Linked DNA regions of Homo sapiens: regions 1 and 2 are each linked to region 3. Evidence: promoter capture Hi-C in 16 types of primary human blood cells and fetal thymus (Javierre and others, 2016). All regions are on one chromosome and are shown on one strand. The core of a region is centred on a gene start or on the middle of the fragment in contact, and the rest is flanking DNA. Distances in the headings are between cores, read along the strand shown. Region 1 overlaps ST3GAL1 (ST3 beta-galactoside alpha-2,3-sialyltransferase 1). Region 2 overlaps ST3GAL1 (ST3 beta-galactoside alpha-2,3-sialyltransferase 1). Region 3 holds the start of DNAAF11 (dynein axonemal assembly factor 11).

The links. Contacts are between HindIII fragments. The CHiCAGO score rates a contact against its expected background, and 5 or more counts as called.
Region 1: a fragment that was not itself captured here is called in contact with the fragment with the promoter of DNAAF11 in region 3 in 1 of 17 cell types (fetal thymus); the score reaches 5.4 in fetal thymus.
Region 2: a contact is called between a fragment that was not itself captured here and the fragment with the promoter of DNAAF11 in region 3, in 2 of 17 cell types (fetal thymus and activated CD4 T cells). The highest score is 5.3, in fetal thymus.

The regions. Positions count from the first base shown.
Region 1 is chr8:133,475,869-133,478,634 of GRCh38, reverse strand. It overlaps ST3GAL1 (ST3 beta-galactoside alpha-2,3-sialyltransferase 1), which reads left to right. Exons shown (of 10, transcript NM_173344.3): 4 at 2,035-2,357; 5 at 2,561-2,766. The coding sequence starts at 2,611. Among named protein-coding and RNA genes, the nearest start is that of ST3GAL1-DT, 93 kb to the left of the region's middle. The HindIII fragment of the contact is 1,982 bases long and covers 310-2,291 here.
Region 2 is chr8:133,457,519-133,460,218 of GRCh38, reverse strand. It overlaps ST3GAL1 (ST3 beta-galactoside alpha-2,3-sialyltransferase 1), which reads left to right. Exons shown (of 10, transcript NM_173344.3): 10 at 282-2,700. The coding sequence ends at 455. Among named protein-coding and RNA genes, the nearest start is that of ST3GAL1-DT, 110 kb to the left of the region's middle. The HindIII fragment of the contact is 1,203 bases long and covers 774-1,976 here.
Region 3 is chr8:132,674,253-132,676,952 of GRCh38, reverse strand. It overlaps DNAAF11 (dynein axonemal assembly factor 11), which reads left to right and starts at 1,408. Exons shown (of 12, transcript NM_012472.6): 1 at 1,408-1,469. The coding sequence starts at 1,460. It overlaps LOC105375767 (a long non-coding RNA gene), which reads right to left and starts at 1,323. Exons shown (of 2, transcript XR_928665.4): 1 at 1,148-1,323; 2 at 895-1,061. The HindIII fragment of the contact is 7,589 bases long and covers 942-2,700 here.

The sequences.
Region 1 (2,766 bases), core at 51-2,550, 800 kb before region 3:
ACAGTGGGGACAGCCTGAGCAGGGACACGGAGGTAGGAGCAACTGTGACCTCTGGGTCAGTCACATTGCTTCAAGTTACAAATAACCTACTTTACCCCATAAAGGGGATTTATTCCCTCATGTAACTGAAAAGTCAAGGTGAGGGTGGGGCTGCAGGTTGAGCAGGATCAGGGATTTAGCACCATTTGTTCGGGTTGTTCAGCTCTAGTCTCTTCTACACACGCTAGCAAAATAGCCAGCAGGATGTTCCACATGTCAACAACAAGCCAGCCAGAGCAAAAGAAAGTTTCTTCCCTCCCTACAGAAGCTTGGCTGGATGAATTAAGGCACATGCCCATCCCTGGATCAATTACTGGGGTAAGAGGTGGGAACCCTCTGCCAGTCAAGTGAATTGTGAGCCTATCTGTGATGATGCAGAAGTTATTCTTACTTAAATTACAGAGCTGCTCCTTGATGGGGGCAGGTGGGGAGAGAATTGGATGGGATACCTGTGGACACCACTAGGTTATAAACAAAATCTAGGTTGTCATGAAAAGTGAAAACTGGAGCAGAGACCGGATAAAAATGACGTTGCCAACTGAGCTGCAGAGCTCAGACCTTGTCCTCCATACGTTGGGCTTCTAGTTCTGGAAGCTGTAGAGGGTTGCACCCTATGCATCTTGGGCCCTGGATGTCTTCAGAAGGGCACTGTGGATTTAATATGGTTTTGGAGCTGTCCCCCTTTCTACCAAAAGGTGATCAATCTCCTTTCAACTCTAATTTTCCTGGAAAAAAATATACCCTGCTTATTGACAATCTACACCTTGAGAATGGGGAGGAATCGATCAGATTTCTTCCATTCTTCAGCATTCCAAGCAAAGACCAAAAAGACCACGCTCCAGGGCAGACGTGCAACCACAGTTGTACCATACAGAAATCCCAAGGTGTCGGTGAGAGCCAGAGGGGTCTCCGATGGGCATTTGAGAGGTACCTGTTTGCCTTCTTCAAAAGAATACTCCCCCCTTGCTCTATATCCCTCCAGCCGTAGTAATCTGAAGACCAGTTAACAAGACAGGTGTCTGCTCCAGGGTAGAGCCCCCCAACCCCCTGTTCCTGGTCCCCCAACCCCTCCCGATGTAAGGAATCAGAGGACTGTGGATTTGGACTCGGATCCTGCTCCTTCCTTTCCTTAGGCAAGTCATCTAAGCACTTTGAGTCTCAGTTTCTTCCAAGACAAAAAGGGAAACTAATATCTAGCTGACAGTATATTCTGAGGATTATCTGAAGAGATACGTATGCATGAATATCTCATCCTCTCAGCTCTTAGTGGATCATCAGAGAATATTGATTCATTCACATGTTGAAGAAGAAAAATTAAAGTTCAGCAATGGCCTAATAGATACCAGAAGCCCAGCATACATCATTTTATCTTATCTTCATAACCATTCTATAAGTAGGGGTGTTAGTATCCCACTTTGCAGAAGAAGAAACTGAGGGTCAGGAAGGTCAAATAACTTTCCCAAGGCTCCACAGCTGGGAAATCAGAACTTGAACCTGGACCATCTAAAGCCCCTTTTTATGGAACTGAGGCCAATTGGCAGAGCTTGAATGCCCAGGTAAAAGGAACCCTGGGCCACTCTCTAAGCATACCATTGTTGTTGTGCTTGTTGCTGAAATCCAAAATCTGGAAGAGAATGAAGTAGAGAGAAAGGCAAATAACATGCATTTAACAATTCCTGTGTATATTGTACCTACATGCATCACGAGCTCTTTGACAAATGTTTGTTGAGTGTGTCAATGTGCTAGGTTCTTGTTGGAAACATGGAGGGGACACCTTCTGCATCCCATAATAACCTTGCAAAGAGATGATAACATCCATTGTATGCACGCACTCAGGCTCACAAAGGTAGATAAACCATCCAGAGCCACCTGCCAGGTTGGCATGACACCAGAAGGAAGACCACGGAATACGTCCTGGTGGAGATGTGGAGAGAAACATTTTTTATAGCAGGATCACAGAATCTCACGCTGTTTTCTTCCTCCTTTTCTTTGCAGATGACAGACAACCTTCTGTGCCTTCATCAAGCTGGTTGTGTACCCACCATGTCCCTGGCGACAGGATGGGAAAGAAAAAGCCCTAATTAAGGATCGTCAGAAACCACAGTTGGAGGAGGACGGCAGAGACAGTTTCCCTCCCCGCTATACCAACACCCTTCCTTCGAGGTCCTCGCTCCTGAGGGACCCTGGACTGTCACAGAGATTAATGACCCCTTATCTTCTTTGGATGTGAAAGGAAATCACTGGTTAAAGCTTGATCGAGAGACATTATCAGCTCTTTAAGGATTGCAGAAGAATAGGCTACTTTATTTTCTGAAAAGGTAAATATATGCAAGCAAAGCCAACATGCCACGAATGGCGTTGGTCTACCACACAGCCGTGTCTGGGACACAGTTGGGGGTCATCCCCCAGCAGGAGTGAAGTCGAGCTTAGCGGCCCTTGTGTCCTCCCTTGGAATTCCTGCCATCCCTTTTGATTGAGCCTCCACCTCTGGGATTTTTCTTCCATTTTTCTCCTCTCTTAGGAGGGAGTTCCTGCTACCCATCGTGGGAGGCCACCATCAGGACTGCGAAGATGGTGACCCTGCGGAAGAGGACCCTGAAAGTGCTCACCTTCCTCGTGCTCTTCATCTTCCTCACCTCCTTCTTCCTGAACTACTCCCACACCATGGTGGCCACCACCTGGTTCCCCAAGCAGATGGTCCTGGAGCTCTCCGAGAACCTGAAGAGA
Region 2 (2,700 bases), core at 126-2,625, 780 kb before region 3:
CTGCAGAGGTAAGACCCGGGCCCCTGAGACCACCCAGATGCAGTAATCTCTCAGGGTGCTTCTGGAATTAGACTTGAGTTTTACTTAACTTGCATTTGCTTCACCAAGACTCTGAGAGTTCCAGGAACGTAGAGAAGGGTTTTTAATGAAGGGTTAGTCAGAGTCCTTGGAAATGCTGTTTATGGTCCTGTGGGATTCCAGGAACGCCTACAGGCTTCCTTTCTCAGAGGTGCCACCAGCAGCCCTGCTGTCTGGTTCTCATCTTTGCTTTGCTCCCACAGGTGGACTTGTACGGCTTCGGGGCAGACAGCAAAGGGAACTGGCACCACTACTGGGAGAACAACCCATCCGCGGGGGCTTTTCGCAAGACGGGGGTGCACGATGCAGACTTTGAGTCTAACGTGACGGCCACCTTGGCCTCCATCAATAAAATCCGGATCTTCAAGGGGAGATGACGCAGTGAAGGGCTGAGGATGGACGCACTGTCACACCTCTGCATTTCCAGCCCCAGCATCTTGCTGGAGCCGTTCCATCCCGGAGCTTGGAGGGGCAGCCTCAGGTGTGTGCCTGGGCACCGCTCACAGCCTCTTGCACCCAGCCGTTGGCAGCATCTACTCAGCAAGGTCACTAAGCTCTGCCAGCGTGGCAGAGCATGTCTTGGAACCTGTCTTGAGTGGGGACAACGTCCCCCCACTGCTGCCCTAGAGCTGGGGAGACGCTGGGAAAGGTTCAACCTCCACACACTAAAATCATTTTGGCTCCTGGGGCAAGCTTGGGGAATGAATGTGGAAGATGCCTATATTCTGAGAGACAGGACAGTTTCCCAGGAAGATGGGCAGAGACTTGAGTGGCGATTACCTCCAGCACAGAGACGTGCCAGGCGGTGTTGGCGCTCGGGGCGAGATGCTGCCCTTCTTTGCACGAAGCCTGGCCTCTTGCTTGGCGTGATAACCCTGTCATCTTCCCAAAGCTCATTTATGAGCCACCAGAGGCTCCTACCCCAAAGATTTTCACAGAAACTTGAGGCCAGGTGCCGTGGCTCACACCTGTAATCTGAACACTTTGGGAGGCCGAGGCGGGAGGATCACTTGAGCCCAGGAGTTCAAGACCAGCCTGGGCAACATAGTGAGACTCCTGTCTCTACAAAAATAAAAGATTTAAAAAAATTAGCCAGGCACGGTGGCACACACTTGTAGCCCCAGCTACTAGGGAGGCTGAGGAGGGAGGATCTCTTGTGCCTAGGAGTTCGAGGCTGCAGTGGGCTGTGATCACACCACTGCACTCCAGCCTGGGCAACAGAGTGAGACCCTGTCTCTGAAAAAAAAAAAAAAAGAAAAGAAAAAAAACCCCAAACTTGGCACCGTGTTTCTGACTCCTGCAGATGCCTCTTCCCAAGCAGTTGTTCCTTTGAGTAGTCAGTCTCATGGTTCTAATCGTGGCGAGAGCGGATCTGACCACTTCCATGTGCCTTTGTATTTGGGAAAGAAAAGCATGCATTGGCTGAAATGAAACAAAAGCCCTTACTTGGGAAAAGGGACCCCCACCAGCGGCCCTGCTTGCTCCGTAGCTGGGAACATCTTTTCTGGTTTCCTGAGCCAGCACCTGAATTGCAACGAAGCTCTGAGGATACTCAACACCACCCAGCAGTGCGTCAGAATGGAACGTACATTCTCATTCTCAGACTGTTCAATATGGTGCCCGTAACCTCCAAAGCCACACAGGAGGCTGCCAGCAGCATTTTCCCCAAGGGCCTGAGCTCAGGGTCAAGTCCCTGCTGGCCATCTTGGGGCTGTCACTGGGGGTCTGGGTCAAGGACATCCCAGGAATGGTAACTGCCACATACCTCATCTTCTTACTCCCCAGCTACTCTCTTTTCCTCATTAGCCTTCCTGATTATTTATTGATTTCTTTTTTTTATTCAACTGACATTGTTTGCACCCTGGCTCTGTTGGTGGTCCTGGTGTTTTAATGAAGCTTGCCTCACCCAGTAGCTGGGAAATTAGGTGGGGGTGCTTAAGGGAGGTTTGTAGGAGTCCTCGGACGTGGGATATTGGGGGTATCTAGGGCTTGGATGGTTTGTGGAATGTCCTCAGCATCCTCCCGTCCCAACCCAACCTTCCTTCTTCCTCATTGTGGACTTGGATTTATTCTCAGGCTAGGAGTCTCCAAAACTCCGTGAAACCTTATTGCTGCTGGGTGTGGAGTGGAGAGTGACAGGAATGTGGGGGACGGTGATTGTTGGCTCCAGTTACTAATGTTTAAGCAGAAAAACCACTTTCTTGTTGAAAATATCCCTGAAAAGGTCGCTGCTGCTTTGAGGAGGCGTGACTTTTTCCTGGTGGAGTGTGACGGAGGCATGGGGCCTGTGCTCCCAGGCTCGGGGGAGCCCCCTCTGCACACGGGGAGGGAGGAACTTGGGGACATCAGTCATGGGTCACAGGTGGCTTCAGGCCATTCACAAGAGTCCCCGGAAGTTGCGTGCCAAGTTTGGTTTTTTCCCTGAATCTCTGCATATGAGCATTTTTCTGGAGAAAGGACCATAGCTTTTATTAGATTCTCAAAGGTTCAGAATGGGGAATGTGTTAAACAAACCGAAAACCTGTTTCAGCTTTAAAATCCTCCAAAACTTTAAAGACTTTTCTTTTTTCTGAGAAAGGCTGGTAAATCACTGAGTCATCATTCAGAACATACAGCCTCGAA
Region 3 (2,700 bases), core at 159-2,658:
CTAACCTGCTTTCAGAAAAATAATAGTGGATGTCAGGTAAGTTTATAGTTTGAGTGCCTTTTGGGAGGCCTCCTTGGAAATCCAAATATTCAGGGAAATAGTGCCTGAAATCCCACTCTTCCAGTTCAGTTCCTTTGGCCTGGCATTTAAGGCCCCCATTACCCCCGATCTAATCTCTCATTCTTACTGTTCGAAGATCCCTTCTATCTAGCTCTCTTTATTGCCAAACTGATGTTTCTGCTTCCCCCCATCACCTCACTCTGTTAGACTTTCCTGCCTCTCTGTCCAAGTTCATGACCTTGTCTCTACCTGGCAAACTCTAATAATTGCCAGCTGTAAATGCTTAACAGCTATTCGCTAGAAAAATTAATTTCTTTGCACTCAGCATTGCTCTAGGAATCTTCTTTTAAAATGCAAACATAATACACACATCAAGATAAGAAGCACGCACTCCATACTGTTTAAAACGACTGGGATGGGAGAAGGTTTTACCTTTTACATATTGCCCCCCTCCTTTTTCTGCAAATGGAGTAAAGAATAATAATTACTTTCATAATAATGGTACCTTTTAAAGATTCTTGGGAAGCTAACGCATTAAAGTGCTAACACTAAGATCTGAGGGTGAATGAGCTTGCTGATGTGCTTCCTAGTTTAGAATGGGAGAAGGCGCGTTGCACACTTTTGGAGAAGGGTCTGGGGAAACGTGAGGGGAGTGTGGGGCTGTAGGAGATATACTTCCTACATTTTACAATTAAGAGAGTGGAGAATAGGGAAATTGATGGAGGGGGTAATGGGTGGCGTTTCTGGAAAGCTTGTTAGCCGGAAACGAGTGTTGGAGAGTGACTTTAAAAAGCTGGAATATGACAACGACAACGAATCTTTATAGTGAGCCTGTTGTTTTCATAGTGTCTTTCATTCACTCAAATTATCTAATTAAAGCTTCACAGTGATCCTCTTAGGTTATTTCTCATCTTACAGATGTGCAAACTGAGGAGAAGGAAGTGTAAGGTCACGCCGCTGGTAGAGTTGGGGGCCAAATCCAGATCTGTTGGCTCTGGAAGCTGTAAATCAAACACAAAAAGGAAAAAGTCAAAGGCGGTCTGGAAGGCAAGCCTGGAAGGCACAGAAAAGAGAAGCGTCCTCATACTTTGTTCACTCTAAACCATTGATTCAGGGAGAGGGAAGCAGTCTGTGGCAAGTCGGAAGTGCGACGAGGACGAAGACTGGGTTTGGGTTGGGGAACCCCTGTCTGCTGAGCCCCTTCACTGCGGTCTCCTCTGCTTGCTCCGCGGAGCTCAGGAAACGCGGCTTGTTTTGGTCCCGCGCGGCCGCCGTAGAGTCCCCGTTGCCATGGCTCCTGAATTCCGACGGGGACGCGCTGAGGAGCAGGGGTGAAGGGTGAAAAGCGTCATTCGAGGTCCGGGTCCGGCTTGCGGGGTCAGCGAACTGGAGAGGCGCCATGGGCTGGAGTAAGCCCCCCTCCACCTTCCGTCCTCGATCGTTCCCCTTGTGGAAGTAGTCCCGGGTCTCGTGGGATCCTCGCCGCCCGCTCCCGCCCTGCGCTGTCGGTTCCCCCGCGCCTGGGCGGACCCTAACCCCACCCGGCCCTCCGCACCGCAGCCCCGGCTGCACCAGGTCCTCTGCAGACTGGCCGGACAGCCTGGCCTTTTCCAGCTCAGGTTCCTAATCTGTAAAATGGGCGGGGCCGTGGGAAGGGGAGGAAGAGGCAGAAAGGCACTGGACTCCAGGAAAGGGGTCGGGGAACGTGCAGGGGTTTTGGCGCCAGACACACCACGTTCCGGCCAAGTGGCTCCTTACTGGCTGTGAACGTGGGCCAGTCACTGTCTCCAAGCCGCAATCTTCGGACTCATTCCGGAAGGCAGTGTAGCCTAATGGTGGAGGGTTCCGACTCTGGAGCCAGGGTTGAAGTCCTCCCTCTTCCTGTGACTTTGAGCGAGTGACTTCACCCCTTGGGCCTCAGCTTCTTCATCTCCAAAATAATGGCAATCATACTACTGTTTTAGACACAGTAAGTGTTATAAACGTGTTTTTGTTTGTTTGTTTGAGACAAGAGTTTTGCTCTGTCGCCCAGGCTGGAGTGCAGCGGCGCGATCTCGGCCCACTGCAGCCTCCGCCTCCCGGGTTCAAGCAATTCTCCTGCCTCAGCCACCTGAGTAGCTGGGATTACAGCGTGCACCACCACGCCAGGCTAATTTTTGTATTCTTAGTAGAGACGGGGTTTTGCCATGTTGGCCAGGCTGGTCTCGAACTCCTGACCTCAGGTGATCCGCCCGCCTCGGCCTCTCAAAGTGCTGCGATTACAGGCGTGAGCCACTGCGCCCGGTAGTAAACGTGTTTCTTTAAGAATATACTAACAAACTGCAAGGTGATGCGGGTAAGTTATTTATATTGTATGAACCATTTTGATATCGACAACGTTTTTGAGCTCCCCATATGGCAGTTTTGTACAGCTCTACCTAATTGATCACTTATCATTGTAAAAATGTCATAATTAACTTTTTTTAAATCAAGAGACTGCTCCAGATGATGGGCTTTCTGCCCTGGAAGACCTGACAGCCTGCAAGTGGGAGAGGTGGGGGTCGGGGGGGAGTGATTTGTAAATGTTGAAACTCCTTTCCTAAATCAGCTACTGATATTTCTTCCTCTCTTCTCAGGGCTGTCTCCCCATCCCCTGGTCTC